Regions from separate parts of the Homo sapiens genome. Here region 1 is linked to region 2. Evidence: promoter capture Hi-C in human tissues and cell types (Jung and others, 2019). All regions are on one chromosome and are shown on one strand. Each heading gives the region's core, a stretch centred on a gene start or on the middle of the fragment in contact. The rest is flanking DNA. Distances are from core to core; before and after follow the strand shown.

Region 1 (6,396 bases), core at 2,790-5,289, 190 kb before region 2:
CAAACATGTCGGAATGTTAATTCAGGGAATCTGGGTGAAGAGTATTTGGGAATTCTTTATACTGTTTGGGAGCATCTCTGTAAATTTAAACTTACTTCAAAATTAGAATATAACGCCACCAAAACCCCCTCTATCACTCACTCCGCATTCCTAGATAACAACTAGTGTGGAATTCTGTTCTTTGAATCACTAGATATCAACTAGCGTGTAACTCTGTTGTTTGAAGCCACCTGGTTTGAGGTACTTTGGTACAGTAGCCCTAGGAAATAAATATGCTACTCAAAGAATATTGAATGTGGCTTTTTCTACAATACTAAAATCTGACCTACCATGTTAACTTAGTAAGGCAAACTGCTGGGGCGGGGTCCCGTTTCAGCCGAACGCATCTGACAATGCCTTAAGTCACACATTGCATAATCACAAGTTGCTTCTTGACATGAGCGGCTCTTCAAGTGCACGGGGAACAACAGATTCTTTGTCAGGGACTCACAAGAGTCACATGCTGTTATTCTTTTCTCCTTAAGAGACAAACTGATTTTTTAATCACTGAGAGCCTATTACATGCGTGGCATAGTTTTAAGATGTTTTGACATGTCACACGTAAACGATAGTAAACATGTCTTGGAAGAGGGGCTAAGATGTGGGACGAACGTGATTATTCAATGGGCATGCGCTTCCGGCCACGCATCACACGCACATACACCAGCGCGGTTATCCATAACTCTACCATTTCAAGTGAGCCGCAAGAGACTGTAAATCGCAGTGAAGTGGGCCGTCAGGCAATGATTACTAAATAAGCATGGGAAACATCTAAGATTAACAGTGAAGAGAGAAGATGCGTTTGGAATGGAATCCTGGAGACAGTTAAGTTACCAGGTGCTTTCACAGTCGTTTTTTCAAATTCAGTCACTGAGACATAAAATAATATTGATCTTTGAGAAGAGCTCTCGACGGAAACAGCAGTTGGCAGTGTCCCCAGAGCACTTGCCCTTCCTCTGGAGCGCTTCACGTGCGAGCCCGCCGTCTATTTATAACAGTTGGGCACTTGTCGCCACAATGGCTGATTGTGTGGCCCAGCTGTCTGTGTCTATCAAGAAGGGCAGGAGTGGACAGCCTGCACTTTGATGTTTCCCTTTTTTGGAGACTGAAAATAACATTTTTAAAAAACTGCCAACCGGCAAGGTCACAAAATATTTTTGGATGGCACGGGGACCCGATTGCAAAGCTGTGGTTCACATCAGATGCGGAGGCCTGGGACGCAGCCAGTGAGCCCCATTGCACAATATCCTGCTCATGCCAACTTCAAAAGTTATTTGCCTCGGAGAGCTCCCAGACGACTCTTTCTCGGTAATAAAACACAGCATTTTAGAAATTTGCAAGGGTCTTCTGGATAGGGCATTACCCAGAGGAGCAAGGATTTCCCTGGCCACTCTGGTTACAGTTGCAACCAGCAGCCCCAGGCCTCTTGCCACCCTTGCCCCGCCCCACCCCACATCCCTCACCCCCACTCCACAAACTCCTGCCCTTCCCTGATGAGCTCTCAAGCACTTACCAGCGACACGCTACATATTTTTCTAATGCATGTGTCAATTTCTTGACTCGCCCATTCTATTATAGATGGCTCACGAAAGCAGGATTAGCGTCTGTTTTGTTCACTGATGCAACCACAGAGCCGAGAATAGTGCCTGGCTCACAATATTTACTGAGTGCATACTTGTGGAATTAATTAATTTAAATAGCAGAGACAATGGGATCAGGAAACACATGGAAATACCGATGACCAGTATTAGATGTCAGGGTTCTGTCGCCCTTCCCTCCGCCCCCGACGAAGATCCCAGCTTTGTTTACATATTTGTGGTGCACAAAAATAGAAATGGACTAAACAAAATTCCCGATTTTCCCAAACTGTGGTGGATTGCAGAAACCAAGACTTCGCAGGGCTCGGTTCTGAAATGATTTTCACTCAAACCATCTTCCTGAAACTCTTCCTATTACTCTCTGCCCATTTCGCAAACCTTCTTGCTGGAGGTATTAGATACGGGAAGCACCTGTAGTAATCAACAAGTATGGCTCTGATTAAATGGATTTTTTTCTTTTTTTTTTTTTGAGACGGACTCTCGCTCTGTCACCCAGGCTGGAGTGCAGTGGCACAATCTCGGCTCACTGCAAGCTACGCCTCCCGGGTTCAAGCAATTCTCCTGCTTCAGCCTCCCGAGTAGCTGGGACTACAGGTGCCCGCCACCATGCCCGGCTAATTTTGTATTGTTAGTAGAGACGGGTTTCACTGTGTTAGCCAGGATGGTCTAAATCTCCTGACCTCGTGATCCACCTGCCTCGACCTCCCAAAGTGCTGGGATTACAGGTGTGAGCCACTGTGCCCAGCCGAAATGGATATTTTGAAAATCATCAAGTTATACAAAAGAATCCCACATGCTGTACAACACCACTCGAGATTTTAGGGTTTTTGCGGGTTTTACATCAGTAGATCATGAAACCCTGACTCTTTAATTATTATGTAAATGAAATTCAACAACACACTCACACCTCAAAAACTCTGGAAGGTCAGAAAGAGGCAGAGAGCAGGGCCCCCGCGGAAGGGGAGGCACACAAGGCAGACAGAGGCAGAGGAGGTGGGAGTACAGGCCCCAGCACTGTGGTAGCCAACAGCAGAGCCATTCTTCCACACCGGGAAGGGCCCCCAGGCCTCAGGAAGCCAGCTCTATTCAGCAGATTTCACAAGTGAAAAAGCCTTTTTAGATGTCTTTTGGGGTCAGGCGTGGTGGCTTACACCTGTAATCCCAGTACTTTGGGAGGCTGAGGCGAGCAGATCACTTGAGGTCAGGAGTTCAAGACCAACCTGGCCAACATGGTGAAACCCTGTCTCTACTAAACATACAAAAAATTAGCTGGGCATAGTGGCACACACCTATAATCCCAGCTACTCGGGAGGCTGAGACAGGAGAATTGCTTGAACCCAGGAGGTAGAGGTTGCAGTGAGTCAAGATCAGGCCATTGTACTCCAGCCTGGGCAGCAGAGCAAGACTCTGTCTCAAAAAGGAAAAAAAAAAAGGCCAGACGCGGTGGCTCACACCTACAATCCCAGCACTTTGGGAGGCCGGGGTGGGGGGATCACGAGGTCAGGAGATCGAGACCATCCCGGCTAACACGGTGAAACCCCGTCTCTACTAAAAATACAAAAAAATTAGCCAGGCGTGGCGCCGGGCGCCTGTAGTCCCAGCTACTTGGGAGGCTGAGGCAGGAGAACGGCATGAACCCAGAAGGCAGAGCTTGCAGTGAGCCGAGATGGTGCCACTGCACTCCAGCGTGGGCGACAGAGCGAGGATCCGTTTCAAAAAAAAAAAAAGATACCTTTTGGGAACAATTCCCCAGCAGAACAAAGGTGCCACTTCTAAGTATGAGGAATTCCTTATCAAAGATGCCTGAGCCTGCAAGACAGCTCCCACAAGTACAAGCGCTGCAACGACTGGGTGACTGCGCGTCTCTGGCAAGCGGTTTTGAAGCCACTTCCTTAGCTCCCATAGACAGGCAGTGCTGGAAACACACATGCAGGGAGCTCCCAGCCGGTGTTGTGCGATACAGAACCCGAAAGCTGCGCCCTCCCCGCAAGGAGGTTGTCTATAGAAAATTCTGTGACATCAGGATTCTTCAATAATCTCTTCAACATCAGCTCTCAACATATTTATAGAAGATCTCCAGGCCCAGCAGTTTTCCTACCTGTGCAAAATGCTGTGGCTTCAAAGTAATGTTTTGTTGTGTTTTGTTTTGTTTTTGAGACGAGTCTCACTCTGTCATCCAGGCTGGAGTGCAGTGATGCAATCTCAGCTCACTGTAACCTCCGCTCCCGGGCTCCAGGGATTCTCCTGCCTCAGCCTCCCAAGTAGCTGGGACGATAGGCGTGCACCACCACACTTAGGTAATTTTTGTATTTTTAGTAGAGATGGTGTTTCACCATGTTGGCCAGGCTGGTCTGAAAATGCTGACCTCAAGTGATCCACCCACCTCGGCCTCCCAGAGTGCTGGGATTACAGCCGTGAGCCACCACACCCAGCCAAAGTAAATTTAAAAGGGGCTTTCGTCCTCCTAGGAGTCAGAATCAGTCCTCACTGTAAGAAGCAGAATTCTAACCTCAAAACTGGTCTCCTGGGAACACTGGAAAGCAGTGCGTGATCCGAAGGGGCAGAAATGACTGACACTCTCAAATTCCCCTCTGCATCATGGGCACTCAGCACTGTGCCTAGTGCATAGTAAGACTTCAACAAATATGTGCTGTTGTTATAATTCGGCATGACGATGGAGGTGCAGAGGTTTACCTGTGTTTTTATTATCTCTGGTTGACAAGGCGGCCACACCCAGGTTGCCTGTTCTGAAGCTGTCTCAAGACAGTGACCATCACCCAGGCTGAGGTCCAGGATGATGTGAGTGCAAATTGCTAAAGCTCTCCTTCAGGTGCCAGGCCTGCCATGACACATGGCGAGTCCTAGCAGAGGTCAGACCAACAACTCAGTTCTTTCAGGTAACCTGTACTGATGAAACCGCCCCCCCCCCCCCCGCCAATCTTACTCTTCTGTTATTTCATGTCTATGAAGGGTTTTGGCATAAAAAAAACAAAAAGCCTCATTTTAAAAAAATCTACAATTGTTTAGGTTTTTGTTTAAAGAGAAGCGTCTGGTTCTGTTGCCTAGGCTGGAGTGCCGTGGTGCAATCTCGGCTCACTGCAGCCTCCAACCCCTGGCCTCAAGCAATACTCCTGCCTCAGCTTCCTGAGTAGCTGGGACTGTCCATCTTTTTTTTAATAACAGCTTTATTGAGATATAATTCACATACCGTACAATTCATCTGTTTCCAGGGTACAATTCAGTGGTGTCTAGCATATTCACACAGGGCTGTGCAACCATCACCACCATCAACCTAGAACACTTTCATCACCCCAGAAAGAAACTCCGCACCCGGCTGCAGTGACACCATCATCCTGGCTTATTGTCGTTTGTCCGCCGGCCACCGTTCTGTCTCTGTTTCTTTCCCAACACCAGCCTCTCTTTTCACGCACTATCTCCCCGCCAGCCCTGCTCCCTGCATTCTGTAGGAAATGCTTGGCTCCTACAGTGGTTGACGAATACCAAAGCTTCTGTGAGCACGCCAGAGGGCCCCCACAAAGCTCTCTCCTCTGTCTGAAACATTACTCTGAAGGAGTGATTTCTTGTTCATTCTGAATAAGGATGACGACACCAGGAAGCGGAGGCCCGGGGAGCATTTACGGCGTGTTCTCGATGTGTGAGCACTGTGGCCAGCACGTTCCAACCCAGTGCTGCAAGAGTTGCTCCCAGCCCCACTTCAGAGATGAGAAAACCAAGGCCCAGGGAACCCAAGGTCACAAAGGACTCTAAGAAGGAGAGTTGAGTAATCCCAGCACTTTGGGAGGCCAAGGTGGGCAGATCGCTTCAGGTCAAGAGTTCGAGACCAGCCTGGCCAACATAGTGAAACCCCATCTCTACTAAAAATACAAAAATTAGCCAGGCGTGGTGGTGGGCACCTGTAATCCCAGCTACTTGGGAGGTCGAGGCAGAAGAATCGCTTGAACCCAGGAGGTGGAGGTTGCAGTGAGCCGAGATCATGCCACTGCACTCCAGCCTGAGTGACAGAGTGAGACTCTGTCTAAAAAAAAAAAAAAAGAGAGTTGAGGCTGGGCGCAGTGGCTCATGCCTGTAATCCCAACACTTTGGGAGGCCAAGGTGGCAAGATCACTTGAGGTCAGGGGTTCAAAACCACCCTGGCCAACACGGTAAAACCCCCGTCTCTACTAAAAATACAAAAATTAGCCAGGCATGGTGGCGTGCACCTGTAGTACCAGCTACTCAGGAGGCTGAGGCAGGAGAATCACTTGAACCTGGGAGGCAGAGGTTGCAGTGAGCCAAGATCGCCCCACTGCACTCCAGCCTGGGAAACAGAGAAACTCTTGTCTCCAAGAAAAAAAAAAAAAAAAGAAGAAGAATTGAAATTTGAACTCCAAGCAATGTGACACCAGAGCTCAGGCCCGGAACCCCATGCTACACTGACTCTTGTTGAGAGAACACTCCAAGATGTAATCATGCCTACAATGACGTTGCAGGGGGAAGTGACTGATCCACTACTTTCCTGGAGAACCTGGGAAGGTATGTGTGATCAGGAGGATAAAAGGCCAGGGAACAAGAAAACTGCAGAGAGGAGACCCAGCAGGCAAGATGCTGCAAAAGGTGCAGCGGAACTGAGTCCACCGAGGAGCTAAAAATCCCTCCGTCTTAGAATTCTGTCCTTGCCAGGAAAGGGCTCCTCATCTCCTGATTGCTAATTAACTTTATCTCCTTGAATCAAGGGAGCTAAAGGAAGTCTCTGAATTAG
Region 2 (6,400 bases), core at 2,562-5,061:
CCCCAGCCACCTGCCTCATTCCAGCCAGGATGCACAGGGCCTAGCTCTGTCCTTAGCCTGCAGGCCAGGTCAGAGAACGGAAACAGCTGTCCCCCTCCTGAGTCCATAGGCTGACTCTCCCCAGCCCACTACACCCAAGCAGGCATCAAACGGCCAGCTAGATGCTACCGGCCTCATCTGGACCTCCCTCTGGGGGATAAGCGGGTAAAAGCACTGGCCAAGGAGTGGAAAGGACTGAATTCCAGCTCTGGCCTGCCATGAACTCACTGTTTGACCTTCACTGTAATACCTGGATGTAGGAAAAAACCAGCAGTTCCTAAACAGCAGTTCCACAGGCCACCATGCCCGGTGCCACTTTTTTTTTTTTTTTCCTTGAGACAAGGTCTCGCTCTGTCACCCAGGCTGGAGTCAGTGATGCAATCACAACTCACTGCAGCCTGACCACCCAGGTTCATGTGATCCTCCCCCCTCGGCCTCTCAAGTAGCTGGGACCACAGGCATGCACCCCTACACCGAGCTATTTTTTTTTTTTTTTAGAGACAGGGTCTCACTATGTTGTCCAGACTGGTCTCAAATTCTTAGCTTCAAGCGATCCTCCCACCTTGGGTTCCCAAAGCGCTGGGATTACAGGTGTGAGCCACTGTGTCCGACCACCGTGTTACCTTCTTGAGGGATGTGTTCATTAGCAAGACCCAGTCTAGTGCATTCCAGGCTCACTGTGGGACCAGATGTCCCCTACAGGCTTGCCCGGCTGCACCAAATGAGGAGTCAGGGAACCAGCTGTGGGGAAAAGGCTTCTGGGGTCTGTTCTCTCCCCAAGACCCCTGAGCTTGCTACATTTTCTCAGCAGCCCTGCCACAGCTAGGCTGCCCTGATGAGGAAACTGGAGTGCTGGCCTCTTTCCAGAAATAACCAGCCAGGGGTGGGAGAGAAAGGGGCGGGGAAACAGCTTCCTGACCGTCACTGCACCCTTGTCTCACATGGCGGGCACTGAGCTGTGGGCACTCACAGAGGGGCAGCCCCAGCATGCACCAGCCCCTTGCCATTGGGGTGGCCGGGTGGGGCCAGGGCAGATGGGCAAGTCTGAAGCTAGGGCTGGAGGTGGAGGAAGGATGAGATGGACAGGAATCCCCAGATCCCCAATCTCCGTATCAAGCAACAAGAGGGACAACAGGAAGCAAAGAGGTCCCAAATTCTGCCTTTAGCAGTAAACACCAATGGCTTAAACCCGAAGAAATGAAATGCTTTCTCAGCAGACTTCGCTCTCCAGGGAAACCAAAAGCATAGCTCTTCGCCCTGCAAACTAGGGAAACTCCCCCAGGACGGTCTTATCCACTGCACCCTTTCTCCTCCTTTCACACTCACCGTACAGGGAGAGAGGGGCTTGGGAGTGCAGGCAGGGTCTGTCACAGAGAGACGGGCTGAGGAAAGGAGAGGACCCTGGCCCGGGTGTGCCTGTCACTGACGCGCTGTCTGACCTCGGAAAAGTTTTCCTGTTTCTCTGGGTTTCCTTCCCTTCCCTGGATGGTGGGGAGACCGATCAAATCATTGCTAGGGGCGTTTCCCACTGCTTTAAGGAGGAACAGCCCCAAGCCAGGACTCCCAAAGAGGAGGGCCCAGTGGGTGGTACAAAGGCCTGAGTGCAGCAGCAGGTCGGGAGGTGGAAACCGGGTAAGGCCCCACCTGGCTGCTCCTTCCCCGTCCTGGCATGGGCACGGGCGACGGGTGGTTGGTAACAGAGGGGCGCTTGTCTCCTCACAGGGAGGCGAGAAGGAGGGCTGCAGAGCCCACCACCCCAGCCAGAGCTGCACACGAGCAACAAGGAGGAGAAGCCGGAGGAGAAGCTCTGTGGGGTCCCTGGCCTAGGAAGCAGATGGGAGTGGTGAGCGAGAATATCTGCCGCCACCCAGCCAAGGAGCAAGCATGATAGGGAGGGAAGTTAGCACACAGCGGAGAGATGAGGGAAAGAGGTCAGGAGCCAAGATGTGACCTTTGGGTGGGGTGGTATTTACCGGGGTGGCACAATTCTGAAGGGGAAATCACCCAGTAGGAAGGACTGTCATGATGGGGGCGTGAGGAAGCCACCTTGTGGGTTAGAACCTGCCGGTGGATGCAGGAGGAGGCCTATTCTGGGGTATACAGTCCACAGTGGGGCAGAGTCCTGATAAAATCCACCACAGTGGATGAAACCCACAGCCCAAGTGCTGAGCAGGAGCAGGGACAGAGGGAAGCTTTACGCCGGAGGTTGGGCCAGGGGCAGACGCACGCTGTGGGACCCAGGAAGGAAAGACAGCAGAGAGAAGGGACCTTTGCACAAGCACCTGCCTGCGTCCTTTCCCCACGACAAGAGCCCCCAGCGAGGCCTGCAGAACATTCCAGATGACCAGTTCCCTCGGTGGGAGGAAAGATAAAGGATGTCCCTAAAAGGCCAAAAATTCCTGGGGCCCAGTGTGTAGCAGCCCAGCAGCTGGGGCTGGGGGGCAGCACAGGAGCGGCCACGAAGGGAGAGGGTGGCAGCGGCTTGGGGCTCCGGATCCAATTACGCGGCTGTTTCCATACTTAGCCGCCTGACAGCCGCCTGGAATACTCAGCACTCAAGCCGCTGCAGCCCTGCAGAGCCCAAATTAACTCAAGGACAGACAAGGGCAGGGCCCAGCAGCACATGCAGTGGCTGGAGCCCCCCACCTTACATCTTGAGTCCCCGAGAAATAGCTTTTGTTCCCACCCACTGCCTGCTCTCCCTGCAGGGACTGTGCCCCTGCAACCCCCTATTCAACCTCAAAGACCTGAGAGGCTGGACTCTGGGCCTCTCCAGTCCCAGGTACGGACCTAGGCTCAGAGCCCAGCTTGGGGGAAGACTGCCGAGTCATGAAAAGACTCGGTGGGCAGTCCGGATCCTAGGGGGATCCCCGGAGCACCTCCCTAAAAGCATTCCCTCGGGGAACCTGGCCTCAGGAACCTTAGGAACAAGAGAGGTGGCAAAACAATCTGGCATCTCCTCCATAGCCTATAGATAACCCCCATGCTGCAACCCAAGCCACCACCTCTGCTACCCAAAGTGCTGAGATGTCAAAGGGAAGCCTCAGCACACAGAGCCAAGCCCCTTTTCTGATGGAAGCCCCCACCCCGAGCAGAGGCTCTACTCCAGAACGGGCCCCGTTCCTCTTCTGAATTGCATCCAATGCTGTTTCCAGCCCAACCGCCAACTCTATTTCCGATCTTATCCCAAACCAATTCCAATTCTATCTCACTGCTCCCAAAACGGTCCCCACCTTTGCCCACTGTATCCCCTTCTGTCCACGCAAACCCAGTTCTCTTACCCGAGTGGGGCCTCCGCCTTATATCCCACCAGGTGGGAGGGTCACCTCAACGACCTCCAGCTCCCAGACTGTGCTATTTTGTCCGTCTCAGAGGCTCCCCCGTCTCGACTTTGAGGGCCCTCTTTCCCACATCTACTGGCCAGACTCCTCTCTGACCCTGGCTCACAGCTCAGCTCTGTTTGCCGTTCCCACTTCCTCTGGCCTTCCTGAGGGCCCCGCAACTGTGCTGCTATTCTCCAGCACCCAGCTCTTTCTCTGAGGCCCCAGGCCCGGGGAAAAGAGAAGGGTAAGAAGACACCAGCCAAGAGCCAGGGTTTGCCATCAGCCCCGACCCCCTACCCAACCCATGGTAGACAGAAAACCTTGGAGGAAGCGTGGGGGACCAGTCTGGGCTGGGTCATGCTGGGAGGGGCCCTACCTGCTTGTCCTGAGAACAGGAGCGAGGCCAGGAGGCAGCCGAGCAGGACCAGCGCCCTCATGGTGACTGCCAAGAGAGCCCAGCTGCTCCTCGCCTCTATTTATACGGCCGGCCGTGGCAGCAGGCGGTGGAGGGGGGAGAGGGGTCACACAGTCACCAGGGCAACTAGGAGGGTGTGATGGGGAAGAAGCCCGGACCCCAGAAGGCTGTGCAGAGGCTCAGGCTGCGCCACTGCTGTCCCAGCTGCCAGGCCCCAGAAGGCAGGGCCGTGGCTGGATTCTCTTCCCCCGAACCCCTGCAGCCCTGGGATCACATGACATGGGTCACAGGGCGTGGGTGACAGGCATAAAATGGAGCATCCCTTGGGCTCAGGCGGTGGAGCTGGGAAGCTGAGTCTTCCCAGAACTTGCAATAACTTGACCTGAAGTCTCGGCAGGTTAAGGACCTTGACACGCCTGCACTGGAAGGAGGAAGTTGTAAGGCCACGCAAAAGAAATCCTATTTAACAGCCACTGATCCACATGCTAGAGAGTGGTCAGCTACGGCAAACCCGCAACATGTGACCTCTGAGGTCCAAGGCTGCAGCCCTGGAACAACCTTCCCAGCCTCTGGAAGAGAGAGAGCACAGACCAGAGGGAGAGGGGCACACTGAGACACAAGCTGAGGCTACGGTGTAAACTGGAGGATGGAGCAACAGATATCCATTTCCAATGGCCCAGGGGTTCCAGAACATTCAGTCACCTCTGCAAAGTGCTTTTTTGTTTATTTGTTTTTGATAGAGGATCTCGCTCTGTCACCCAGGCTGGACTGCAGTGGCACAATCATCACTCACTGCACTCGACCTCCCAGGCTCAATCAATCCTCCCAACTCAGCCTCCCAAGTAGCTAGGACAGTAGTGCCACCATGCTGTACTAATTTTTTAAAATTTTTTGTAGATGGCCCAGAGAGCCAGTTGTAAGAAGCCAAGGGAAAGCAGACACTTGCTTGTCTGGTCGGGGTACAGTGTCACTGTGTGGGGAAGAGGTAGAAGCCAGCCTTGGAGGAAAGGAACTAAATCAGGGCCAGGCACAGTGGCTCACACCTGTAATCCCAGCACTTTGGGAGGCCGAGGCGGGTGGATCACCTGAGGTCAGGAGATTGAGACCAGCCTGGCCAACATGGTGAAACCCCATCTCCACTAAAAATACAAAAATTACTGGGTGTGGTGGCGGGTGCCTATAATCCCAGCTCCTCAGGAGGCTGAGGCAGGAGAATCACTTGATCCCAGGAGGCGAAGGTTGCCATGAGCCAAGATTGCACCACTGACTCTAGCCTGGGCAACAGAGCGAGACTCTGTCTCAAAAAAAAAAAAAAAAAAAAAAAGAATTAGGCATCTGGTAGGCACTTGACTTTTTTTTTTTTTTTAATCTTTTTTAAGAGACAGGGTCTCTGTCACCCTGGCTGGAGTAGTGACACGATCATAGCTCACTGCAGCCTTGAACTCCTGGGCTCAAGCCACCCTCTCACCTCAACCTCCGAGGGGCTGGGAATACAGGTGTGCACCACATCTGGCTAATTTTTTTGTTTTTTGCAAACATGGTCTTCCTATGTCACTCGGGCTGGTCTCCAACTCCTGGGCTCAAGCAATCTTCCTGTCTCGACCTCCCAAAGCACTACGATTACAGGCATGAGCTACTGCTTTTTCAAAGACAAGGTCTTGGGACTTTTCCTCTTGGAAGTCCCCTCTCTCTCACTAAGGAGCTGTTTTTCTTTCTCTTTCTTTTGCCTGTTAAACCTCTGCTCCTAAACTCCTCATGTGTGTCTGTGTCCTAAATTTTCTTGGCGTGAGACAATGAACCCCAGGTATTTACCCCAAACAATGTAGCTGCTTCATGTTGGGGACCTCATCCGGGATCCCAAGGTACAACACTCATCAAAACGAGTCAAGAAAACTTATTGTGAACTATTTATGGCCTTTAATAATTGAATAAGGTATACTCCTGTGAAGAAAATTTGGAGCATGTTTGTTTCTCTCTGCCTGGTTTCTCTGGAATCTGGAAACTATCTCAACATCTGGTGGAGGCAAACCAGTGTTACAACCCATCAGAATGGCTGACAGTAATCAAACTCTAAATGGTGCTGCAGACAGAACCATGCACGGACATGCCTTTTTTCCGAGGACCCTTAGCTCGACCCCAGGAGGAGCCCTTAGCTTCTGTTCCCCACACAACACCCCTTTTAAGTATGAAGTAGCCAGAAAGAGTCATCATCAAACAACCCCGAAGAGCAGTTAGGGTTACCACTCCAGAGTGGGGAATGATACAGGAGTTAAGAGGAAATTACTTAGATAGTGAGGATACAGAAGTCCTCAGTAAGGTTTTCCTTTTACTGAAAAGCAGCCCCAAATCATTTTCCTTTCTAACAAAGAGCAGCGTGTAAAATCGAGCTGCAGACATAGATGCAGGCAGTTGTGCCAATCATGTTCAAAATGGCGGCTCCATCTTCCCTTCTCTGCCAGCCACGTGCACAGTAAGGAGCAGACAAGATGGTGCTGGCCAAGGGGAAAGTTCATTTGCATAATAAGATTAGAGTGGGGAGGTCAGCCTTCCCCACACCCCAGCGCTATGTAAACATCATACCTGACTGAACCAATCTGTGAGCCCTATGTAAATCAGACACCAC

What was found. Contacts are between HindIII fragments. The study calls those that stand out against the background at their distance.
Region 1: a fragment that was not itself captured here is called in contact with the fragment with the promoter of SRL in region 2 in 10 of the 25 tissues and cell types used here (IMR-90 fibroblasts, heart right ventricle, hippocampus and 7 more).

What each region holds. Positions count from the first base shown.
Region 1 is chr16:4,052,483-4,058,878 of GRCh38, forward strand. All of the region lies in intron 2 of ADCY9 (adenylate cyclase 9), which reads right to left. LOC124900373 (a long non-coding RNA gene) reads right to left here and starts at 2,138. Exons shown (of 2, transcript XR_007064957.1): 1 at 1,553-2,138; 2 at 1-1,339. The HindIII fragment of the contact is 3,542 bases long and covers 2,269-5,810 here.
Region 2 is chr16:4,238,269-4,244,668 of GRCh38, forward strand. SRL (sarcalumenin) reads right to left here and starts at 3,812. Exons shown (of 6, transcript NM_001098814.2): 1 at 3,739-3,812. The coding sequence starts at 3,799. The HindIII fragment of the contact is 19,223 bases long and covers 1-6,400 here.